2 separate regions of the Homo sapiens genome follow, and region 2 is linked to region 1. Evidence: promoter capture Hi-C in human tissues and cell types (Jung and others, 2019). All regions are on one chromosome and are shown on one strand. Each heading gives the region's core, a stretch centred on a gene start or on the middle of the fragment in contact. The rest is flanking DNA. Distances are from core to core; before and after follow the strand shown. Region 1 holds the start of SRPK1 (SRSF protein kinase 1). Region 2 overlaps ZNF76 (zinc finger protein 76).

What was found. The method cuts DNA at HindIII sites, captures the fragments that hold promoters and counts their contacts. A contact is called where the count stands out against the background at its distance.
Region 2: a fragment that was not itself captured here is called in contact with the fragment with the promoter of SRPK1 in region 1 in 1 of the 25 tissues and cell types used here (dorsolateral prefrontal cortex).

The regions. Positions count from the first base shown.
Region 1 is chr6:35,918,468-35,923,401 of GRCh38, forward strand. It overlaps SRPK1 (SRSF protein kinase 1), which reads right to left and starts at 2,631. Exons shown (of 16, transcript NM_003137.5): 1 at 2,577-2,631; 2 at 2,001-2,061. The coding sequence starts at 2,589. RefSeq lists silencers at 2,294-2,883, 2,914-2,973. The HindIII fragment of the contact is 10,140 bases long and covers 744-4,934 here.
Region 2 is chr6:35,276,863-35,281,796 of GRCh38, forward strand. ZNF76 (zinc finger protein 76) reads left to right here. Exons shown (of 14, transcript NM_003427.5): 2 at 4,194-4,362. The coding sequence starts at 4,290. Among named protein-coding and RNA genes, the nearest start is that of DEF6, 18 kb to the right of the region's middle. The HindIII fragment of the contact is 5,242 bases long and covers 1-4,775 here.

The DNA.
Region 1 (4,934 bases), core at 1,381-3,880:
TGCAGCCTGGGCAACAGGCTTTCTTTTTGCCTCAAAAAGAAAAAGAAAAAAAAGGTAGGTAAATTCAAAAACAAACAAACAAAAAAAACTTATTAATTGGAAACAAATCCAAAAATAAAACACCTCTGAAGTTACAAGGAAATGGGGGCAGTTCATTCACGCATATTTTCAGGATTCAAAGTTGTTCAAGATGAAATATTCAGTAAAATGACTGCTAGATTATCTATAATCCATACTTGCAAACAATTAACACAAATAACTCTAAGTTATCCATAGTAGTGAATGGGGTAACAGATACACATCTGACTTTAGAAATAAAGCATATGGTCTAAATAGATAATCGAAAGTAACAGATTTCTGGTGCTTAAAGTATATCATCTATATACATTTACCCCTCAAATTACAGCTTGATTTGGGCTAATCTCAAATTAATTTCTAAGTGGTAAGAGAGATCTGGACAAATAGTCTGAGAGACCAGGATTTCTAAAAAATACAGAGTAATATAATAAAAACTGCAACTTCCTTGTATCAATAGAAAAGAACGTTTTAACACATTCTCATCAATTCCACAAAGAATAACTAAACTAGGCACAGAAAAGTAACATTTCAAGTCCTACTGCACACTAGAACCAAGTTAGCACCTTGCTGTTTCTATTAAACGATCTAGGATTAAAAACTGGTTTTGAATAATCCCATATATGGATAATCCAAAGGTAAACAGACACACACAAACTCTCATTTACAAGACTTCGTCACCAAGCACTTACAAAATACATTTCATAAGACAGAAGAGAAAATGGAGCAAGAGGTGAGGTCACCTACCACTTTAGTTCTATTGAAAGAGAGAAGTCATTATGTGCTCTCCCCAAACAGTAGGTAGCCTCCAAAAACAACACACACCCCTACACCCCCCTAATCTGGTATTGTCATTCAGTGGGGTGACCTAGGAAGGCCTTTGAAATGTGTTGTATCAGCTCAGAGGGAATTAGACCGCATACGATGCCACAAAACATCAAATAAATGTAAAACTATAAAGATAATACATCTAAAATTAAGATGTATTAATAACTAGGCATACAAGCTCTCTCTGAATACAAAGTGTGTAAGAGCTGATTTCCAAGATCCTTTGCAATTAAACGTTAGTACATGATGAAAGTTCTTAAGGCTTAGCCTCACTTGCTGCTAAGCCTGCTACCTGAGTTTCTACTAGGCTGTGACCAACTTTTGAACTTGCCACGATAGCACTAAACTACTGTTATGCATCCTACTGATAAAACTGGACATGTGGCGCTTAATACGCCAAACCAGAATCATCAATGTTTGTTAAAGAACTCTCCCGTTACTATTGTGATGTCCACTCCGGAAGATTATCTGCATCTGGTTGAGGTTTAGACAGAAGAGAAGCAGTTAACAGACACCGACTGTATACACAGCGGTCTGCCGGCACACTGCAAAAAAGCCGATACGCCTTACAGGCTCAGGAAGTTGACTAACCCAGGGAAAAGCCCCATGCCCTCCTCTATGAAAGGGAGTGTGTGGTTGGTAGAACCCAAAGTAAACACGGAAAAATTCATTCAAGAATTTCCTTAAGGCCTACCGTGAAGACGTCGGAGGCAAGTTAAGACGTTGGGGAGCAGGTAAGAGAGACCAGAGTTCAGAAACAGACCGATAATGATCTACCAGCTCCGGTGGGGAGGTCCAAGCTAGGGGAGTTTGTGCCTCCTCTGTGGAGTTGGGGAGGAAAGGTACCGGGCGGGCTCTGGTCCTCCTCCGACAGCCCTTTCCAGCAGGCCCGGGGCTGCTAAGACCCAGGCCTGGCGTTGAGCAACAGCAGCTCTCTTCCACATGGTTGCTGGAGAGCGACCCTCCGAGCTGCCCCGAGGCCATGTGGCTGCAGCCACAGGGTGCCCAAACCCGGTGCACGTTCAAGACGTGAAACCAGAGCAGAGAAGGTGCCGGAGGAAAATCCAAAGAATGGGATGTTGGGGTACAAGACTCACTTCCTTTGGGCTTTGTCCTTCTTGGCCTTGGTCCTTTTCTTTCGGGCCTGGAGCGCAAGCACTGCAGGAGAGAGGGATGGATGAAGGGCGAATGTGGAGGAAAGGAGGCGACCAAGGTGAGGGTGGAGACCCAGCAGGGGCGCCAGGCCCGGCTGCGGGGCCTGCCTCGGGGGCGGCTGCGGGCTCCGGCGAGGCGGCCGGCCGTGGGGCTGGCGGCCCACGGGGCGCAGAGCAGCGCCCGGGCGGGATGCGCCGGAGGGGTCTCAGGCCGGGTCAGGGGGCGGGCGGGTGGGGGTCTGCGTCGCCCGCCAAGGGCCGGGCCCTGGAGTGGCCCCAAGGCGCGAGCCGGCCTGGCGGGGAACAAGGGGCGGCTACGGCCGGCGCCAGAGGACGCCCGGACTGAGGGGCGCGGACCCGCAGCCCAGAGGCAGGGGGTGTGGGGCGGCGCCACCTCAGTGGAGGGGCGCCGCACGTCCGGGAACCGAACCGCGGCAGTTAAGCGAAGCTCCCGGCGCTGACCCGGGCCTCGCCCCGGCGACCATTGCCCCTCGTGGCGGAGGCCGCTCCACCGCTCACCTTTCCGCTCCATGGTGAGACCGGTAATCGCCAGGCGCCTGCGCACTCGAGTGGCGGCGACTCCCGCTCCCGCCGCGGCCCAAAACCGAGCCCGCTCACACTCCGCCCTCAGTCCCGCCCCACCCCCGCCCCACGATGCCGCGCGCTTGCGCGTTGGGCGCGGAGCCTACCACCTGCTCCCGAGGAGGGGGCGGCAAGGAGAGGGAGGGGGCGCAGCGGGGAGGAACGCCGGGGTGAACGTTGAAGGAGTGTTAGAGATCCAAGCTTGGAAACCTGGCAAGGTTAGTTTTGTTCTATTTGTTTAGAAAAGGCGCAGAGAGCGGCAGGGCTCTCTGCATGCTGCTGAGTCAGAGCTTCGGAGGCAACTGGGATCTGCCTCAGTTTCCTGGCCTGTAAAATGGATTAATCAGGCATGTCCCAGTTTCTCCTTCCCTGAGCTATTGTGAGCCCAGTTGAGATACTATTTAAAGAAAATGGAAAAAAATTACATGTGAGAAAGAAAAGGGAGTGGGAGCAACACAAAAAGACTGGAAGGAAAGAACCTGTGACCCTATTATCACTTGAAAAGTAAAAACTTCAAAAGTGAATTTTCTCTTGAAATTTCAAGTTTAAGTGAAAGCTGTAAAGGAAAGAAGGGGAAATGAGAATAAAAACGTTTAATGTTTTCTTATTCTACCACCTTCAATACATGATAAAGCTGTCTTGTTTATAAGTTTTTTTTGTTTTTATTTTCTAAGTGCATTATCTCATTTGATGTTTATGGCAACTTAAAGGCAAAATAGTTATTACTTCCATTACACAAAGACACTAAACTTAAGAGGGCCTGCCTATATGTTCAGAATCTTGGTGTACGACCCAGTTATTTAATCATGAAGCCCTTATTGTATAGCAGGCTCAGCAAAGTTTTTCTTTGGGCCGTACAGTAAATATTTAGGCTTTGTGGACCATAAGATCTCTTTCTCAGCTACTCAACTCTGCCATTGGAGCTCAAAAGCAGTCATAGAAAATATGGGCTGTGTTCCTATAAAGATTTATGTATGGACACTGAAATTTGAATTTCATATAATTTTCACGTCATAAAATGTTCTTCTATTGATTTAAACATGGTCTTTGTTAGGTTTTGAAGGGAAGGTGAGGGTTAAAGAAAGACAGAGAGAGCAGTCTTGCTCTGCTGCCTAGGCCGGAGTACAGTGGCATGATCTCGGCTCACTGCAGCCTGGACATCCAGGGCTCAAGTGATCCTCCCACCTCAGCCTCCCAAGGTGCTGGAATTACAGGTGTGAGCCACTGAGCCAGGCCCTTTTGATCTTTTTTCAACCGTTTCAACGGTTATTCTTATTTCAGATCTTAGTTTACCAACCCATGTTGTAAAGTACCGCAGCTGGACAGAGTGGAAGCTCTGAAGACCTTTGCTCTGAACAAGTAATTGAGAAGGGAAGATGAGAGGGCAATAGTACAGCACAAGTCAAGCATGGGGGCTTTGGCAGAACTTATTGAGCAAAGTAAGTAATTAAGCCCATCCAGAGAAGGCAGTTTTTGAGCTGGGTATTAGGAAATATGTAAGATTTCTATAGGTGGAGAAGGAGATGTCAGGCATTCCTGAATGAGAAAATACATTGAGCAAAAAGGCACAGACGTGGACACCTGTAGGTGGGGGCTAGGATTGGGGCTGGTAACAACTGAAGGGATGAAATGGAAGGTGAGGCTGGAAAGGCAGGTTAGCCAAATTTGAAATTTAGATAATTGATATATGTTGCATGGAACCTGAATGATAGCATGTCTGAGTATATTGCAAAAGAAGACAGTACCTGTTGGCCAAGGAAGGATGCAGCCCAGTCTATTCCCTGCTGTAAAGTTGAAAACAAAAGGAAGGTTAGGACAGACAGGGAAGCCCTAGACTCTGAGGGTTGTGTGAGTTCAGGATAACCGCGTGTGGTTTAGAAAAGACAGGGAGAGAGCTGATAGCTAGGAAAAATCCCAGAATTGGGAAAGTACTGCCCACCCCAAAGTAAACTGTTTGAGTGTAGAGACCCTGCTTAGGTTTTCCTTGATGTAAACTCAGTGCCTACACAGTGTTAGGCACTTAGTAGGTGCTCATATATTTGTCTAATAAAAGAATAAATGGGCCAGGCACAGTGGCTTATGCCTGTAATCCCAGCACTTTGGGAGGCCGAGGCGGGCAGATCACAAGGTTAAGAGATCGAGACCATCCTGGCCAACATGGTGAAACCTCATCTCTACTAAAAATACAAAAGTAGCCGGGCATGGTGGCACATGCCTGTAATCCCAGCTACTTGGGAGGCTGAGGCAGGAGAATCGCTTGAACCCGGGAGGCGGAGGTTGCAGTGAGCCGAGATT
Region 2 (4,934 bases), core at 905-3,404, 640 kb before region 1:
TTTGGCTCACTGCAACCTCCGCCTCCTGGGTCCAAGCAATTCTCCTGCCTCAGCCTCCCAAGTAGCTAGGCATGTGCTACCACACCTGGCTAATTTTTGTATTTTTTTTTTTTTTTAGCAGAGGCGGGGTTTCACCATGTTGGTCAGGCTGGTCTCGAACTCCTGATCTCAAGTGATCCGCCCACTTCGGCCTCCCAAAGTGCTGGGATTACAGGCATGAGCCACCGTGCCCAGCCTGCTTTGTTTTTAGACCTGGTTTCTCTTATGTGTCTTCTGACACAGTGCAGTTACACTAAAGCGGGTTACCCAAAGAATCTACCTGATGAAGAGAGTGAAGCTTGAAGGTCAGAGCAGACCAAGAGAGGCCAGGAGCAGAGCTCTTGTGAGACAGGGACCACGTGGAGGTTATCAGGGCTCTGGGCAAGGATGCTAATAGACCAGAGATGTCAGATGTCAGAATCCCCACCTTGACCAGTGGTTCTTCACCATTAATCCCTATCAGACCCTGATGACAGCCTTGGATTTCCCTCTCTCCTGGAAAATGCAAAGGCTCACACACCAAAAAAGTATTTTGGAGTAGCTTCAAGTTTCATAAACCCCCAGCTTCACCTCTGTGCTTCGCAGCATAGTAATTAAGGTCACACTCTGGATTAAATGGCCTAGGGTGAAATCCTCCTTTACTAGTTAGCTGTGTAACCTTGAGCAAGTTACTTAACTTGGTCTTGGGCCTCCAGTTCCCTCACTTTTAAATGAGGATAATCATAGCATTTGATTGTAGGATTGTTAGAACTAAATGAGTTAATGTATGTGACATTCCTAGCACGTGGTTAACTCTATAGTAGTGTTCACTATATAATAGTATTGCTGCCCTTGCACCTTAGCCCATTTAGTAAATGTTTATGGACAGAATGAATGAATAATTCTAGTTGAGATGCCATGCCTGGGGTAGAGCATTCCAATCAGCGTGTCGCAGTTGGTCTATAGGTTTTTTTGGGTTTTTCGTTTGTTTGTTTTTGAGACGGAGTCTCACTCTGTCGCCCAGGCTGGAGTGCAGTGGTGCAGTCTTGGCTCACTGCAAGCTCCGCCTCCCAGGTTTATGCCATTCTTCTGCCTTAGCCTCCCGAGTAGCTGGAACTACAGGCGCCCTCCACGCCCGGCTAATTTTTTGTATTTTTAGTAGAGACAGGGTTTCACCCTGTTAGTCAGGATGGTCTGGATCTCCTGACCTTGTGATCTGCCCGCCTCAACTTCTCAAAGTGCTGGGATTACAGGTGTGAGCCACCACGCCCAGCCAGTTTTTGTTTTGTTTTTTTCTTTTTTTTTGAGACGGAGTTTCGCTGTTGTTGCCCAGGCTGGAGTGCAATGACACGATCTCGGCTCACCGCAACCTCTGCCTCCCAGGTTCAAGCAATTCTCCTGCCTCAGCCTCCCAAGTAGCTGGGATTACAGGCATGTGCCACCATGCCCAGCTAATTTTGTATTTTTAGTAGAGACGGGGCTTCTCCATGTTAGTCAGGCTGGTCTCGAACTCCTGGATGGTCTATAATTTTGCCAAGATATTGATCCGCTCGCCCCTCAGGGCTGTCAAAGCCCCAGTTGGTCGCTTCTGGCTTGAAGCAGTGACATCTGCAATGTGAACTTCTGACTTTAAGCAGCAGCATCTGCAATGCAATGTACAAATATCTGTCTCTCTAGGTCCCCTGACATGAAAACAGTTTGGGTAGCACCAGTCAAAGATATCGGTTGGTAAGTCGTGAGAATCCAGTAGGCAGTCCAGATTCCAAGTCCAGGAGAATTTTGAGAATGGATGTCAAAGAGAGTCTTCACGACTGCACTGAGTTTAGAGGCCGTGGGCTTCCTGCAGGCTTCACAAGTGTTGGGGTCCACTGCTAGAGCAGGCTGCACACCACAGTGGGTACAGAAGATATCCTGCCAGCAGGAAGCTTCAGTGCTTCCCACCTTGCACATGAGGGACCCAGGGAGTCACTCACAGGATGTGTGGAGAGCCCACAGTGTGAGTTGCTGGAGAAACCACTGTGACGCAGAAACCAGGCTAGAGCCCAAAGCCTTGTGTAGGCAACGGACATTAAACAGATAGTGATGAGTACTGAAGTAGGTTGAGCCCAGAGGTGTGAGTGCTAGGAAAAGGTGGTACCTAGGCTGTGGGAGTTTATAACAACCCAGCCTTGTATGCAAGGTGGACTCTAAGAGCTGTAGGAAACTATGGAAGGGTTTTAGTCAAGGAAGTGGTATGTTTAGATTTGTACTCTTTTTTTCTTATAAATCTACTTTTATTTATTTACTTTTCATTAGCTTAAGTCCTTGAGGGGCACAGCGTCACACAGATTCTGTGTTCAATAGCTTTAGCAAGATTGCTTGGGAATTTAGCACAAACCATGCCACTGTTTCCATGGGCCTGAGTTTACCTTTCCCCAGATTATGCTGGTTTTCTTCAGTTTGCTGCCAGCAGTCAGTGTGTTGTTCTTTGCTTTATACATGTAAGTACATCTCTTGCCTAAATAGAATTAGTTTCATTTCGAGCATAAATACCTTCAATTTTTTTTTTTTTTTTTTTTTTTTTTTGGGACGGAGTCTCGCTCTGTCGCCCAGGCTGGAGTGCAGTGGCGCGATCTTGGCTCATTGCAAGCTCCACCTCCCAGGTTCATGCCATTCTCCTGCCTCAGCCTCCCAAGTAGCTGGGACTACAGGTGCCCACCACCACGCCCGGCTAATTTTTTGTATTTTTAGTAGAGATGGGTTTTCACCATGTTAGCCAGGATGGTCTCAATCTCCTGACCTCGTGATCCACTGTCCTCGGCCTCCCAAAGTGCTGGGATTACAGTCGTGAGCCACCGCACTTGGCCAATACCTCAATTTTAATAAGAGCTGTGTCCTCGCTTTGGTTCTGGAGGCCCCACTTACAGCTAGCAAAAAATGGCCTTGGACTACAGCCTTCCAAATGTATTGTATTTATCTTATTATTATTTTTGAGACAGAGTCTCTTTATCACCCAGGCTGGAATTCAGTGGTATGATCAAAGCTTACTGCAGTTTCAAATTCCTGGGGTCAGGCAGTGCTCCCACCTCAGCCTCTTGTGTAGCTAGGATTGCAGGCATGTGCCACTACACCTGGCTAATTTTTTTTTTTTTGTAGAGACAATGTCTTGCTGTGTTGCCCACATTGGTCTTGAACTCCTAGCCTCAAATAATCCTCCTGCCTCAGCCTCCCAAAGCACTGGGATTACAGGCATGAGCCACTACACCCCGCCCATATTTGCCTTTTGGAAGTCCTGTTCTCAGCAGGCCTCTACAGGCTCCAAGATAGTGGGAAGAGAGCTTTTTTTTTAAATTCACCCTGACAGCATAAACATGAATGTTAGAACATGAGTTGGAAGAGGCTGAGGCAGGAAGATCACTTGAGCCCAGGAGTTCGAGGTTACAGTGAACTGTGATGGAGCCACTGCACTCCAGCTGGGCGACAGAGTGATACTTTGTCTCTAAAAAAGGAAAGAAAAGAAAATGAATTGGAAACAGACAAAAGTTTATCTGAGGACATAAGTTATAAGGCTCCTTATAGTTGTCCAGAGGTGAAAGGTGAGACATGCCTGAAATAAGTACCTGGACTTTTAAGGGAAAAGGAGGACTCAAGCATGATCCCCCCCCCCCCCGCCCTGAAGTTCTGGGTGGAAGGCGATACCACCCCTGGGATAGGGGATACTGGAAGTACAATAGTTCTGGAAGGTTGGGACACATTGTGAGTTCTGTTGAGGACTTATTCCACGTGTGGTACATGTGGGATGTTCCCTGAGGATGGTTAACAAGCTCAGTAGATAAATGGGTCCGAGCACAGGAGAGATGTTGGAGTAGGCAGAGAGAACCATCAGCAGTGGGGTTAACTGCCTGCCTTCAGCAGGGCTCCTTCCTAAGGGGAGAAAGTTTAGAAATGGGTTTTGATCAGTGATTTCTTACTTTATGACCAGTTTGATTGGCATGCTTCTCTTCTATGCTTAACTTTTAGAATTCTTAGATAATGTGTATTTTGAGCCCTTTTCATAAAAACCAATATAGTTCACTACTTTGAAGAATTCATCTTTTTTCTTCTTGGCTGGCTGGCCTCATTAACTCCTTCCCTGAGTGTCTTTGCGATAGGAGAAAGCTGGTTAACTCATAATGTGATACTGTTTATTTTCTTAGATTTGTGACCCAGAAGGAAATCTCTGACCTCAGCTGTGGCTCTTGGTGCTGGCCAGAAGCCAACTTCATGTCTGAGTGCACGAGCAGCAGTTTGCCATGGAGAGCTTGGGGCTGCACACGGTGACCCTTAGTGATGGGACAACAGCCTACGTCCAGCAAGCTGTCAAAGGTAAGTATTTCTGGGGACCTCAGGATCCTGCCCTGTCCCTCAGCCTCTGGAAAGGAGTGTCCATTTCTAAGAGTCCCACCATCACCTTGCCCTCCCGCCTGCTTACCCTTGCCCACCACCACAATTTGCTCTGCATTAGAATCTCCTGTGGTGCTTGATGAAAAGGGAACTCTAAAATAAAATGCTACAAGTCAGACAATCCCAGTCATAGGAACCAATACCTCTCAAAGACAGAATTCCTAATATGTAATAAGCAGTTGATAAATATTTCTGGAATGAACACAGTGTTAGTTATGACTCCCTGCTTTTCAGATATCCCCTGTCACAGTTTTTTAGTGCTTTCTAGAAGCAGTTTATCATCTTAATTCAAGTATATTCAAACATTCAAACTACTAAGCATCTGCCATGTACAAGATGCTCTTTTAAGCCAGGCATAGTGGCTCATGTCTATAATCCCAGCACTCAGAAGGCTGAGATGGAAAGATCACTTGAGGCCGGGAGTTGGAGACCAGCCTGGGCAACATAGCAAGACTCTTGTCTCTAAAAAAAATAATAAAAATAATAATCTGGGT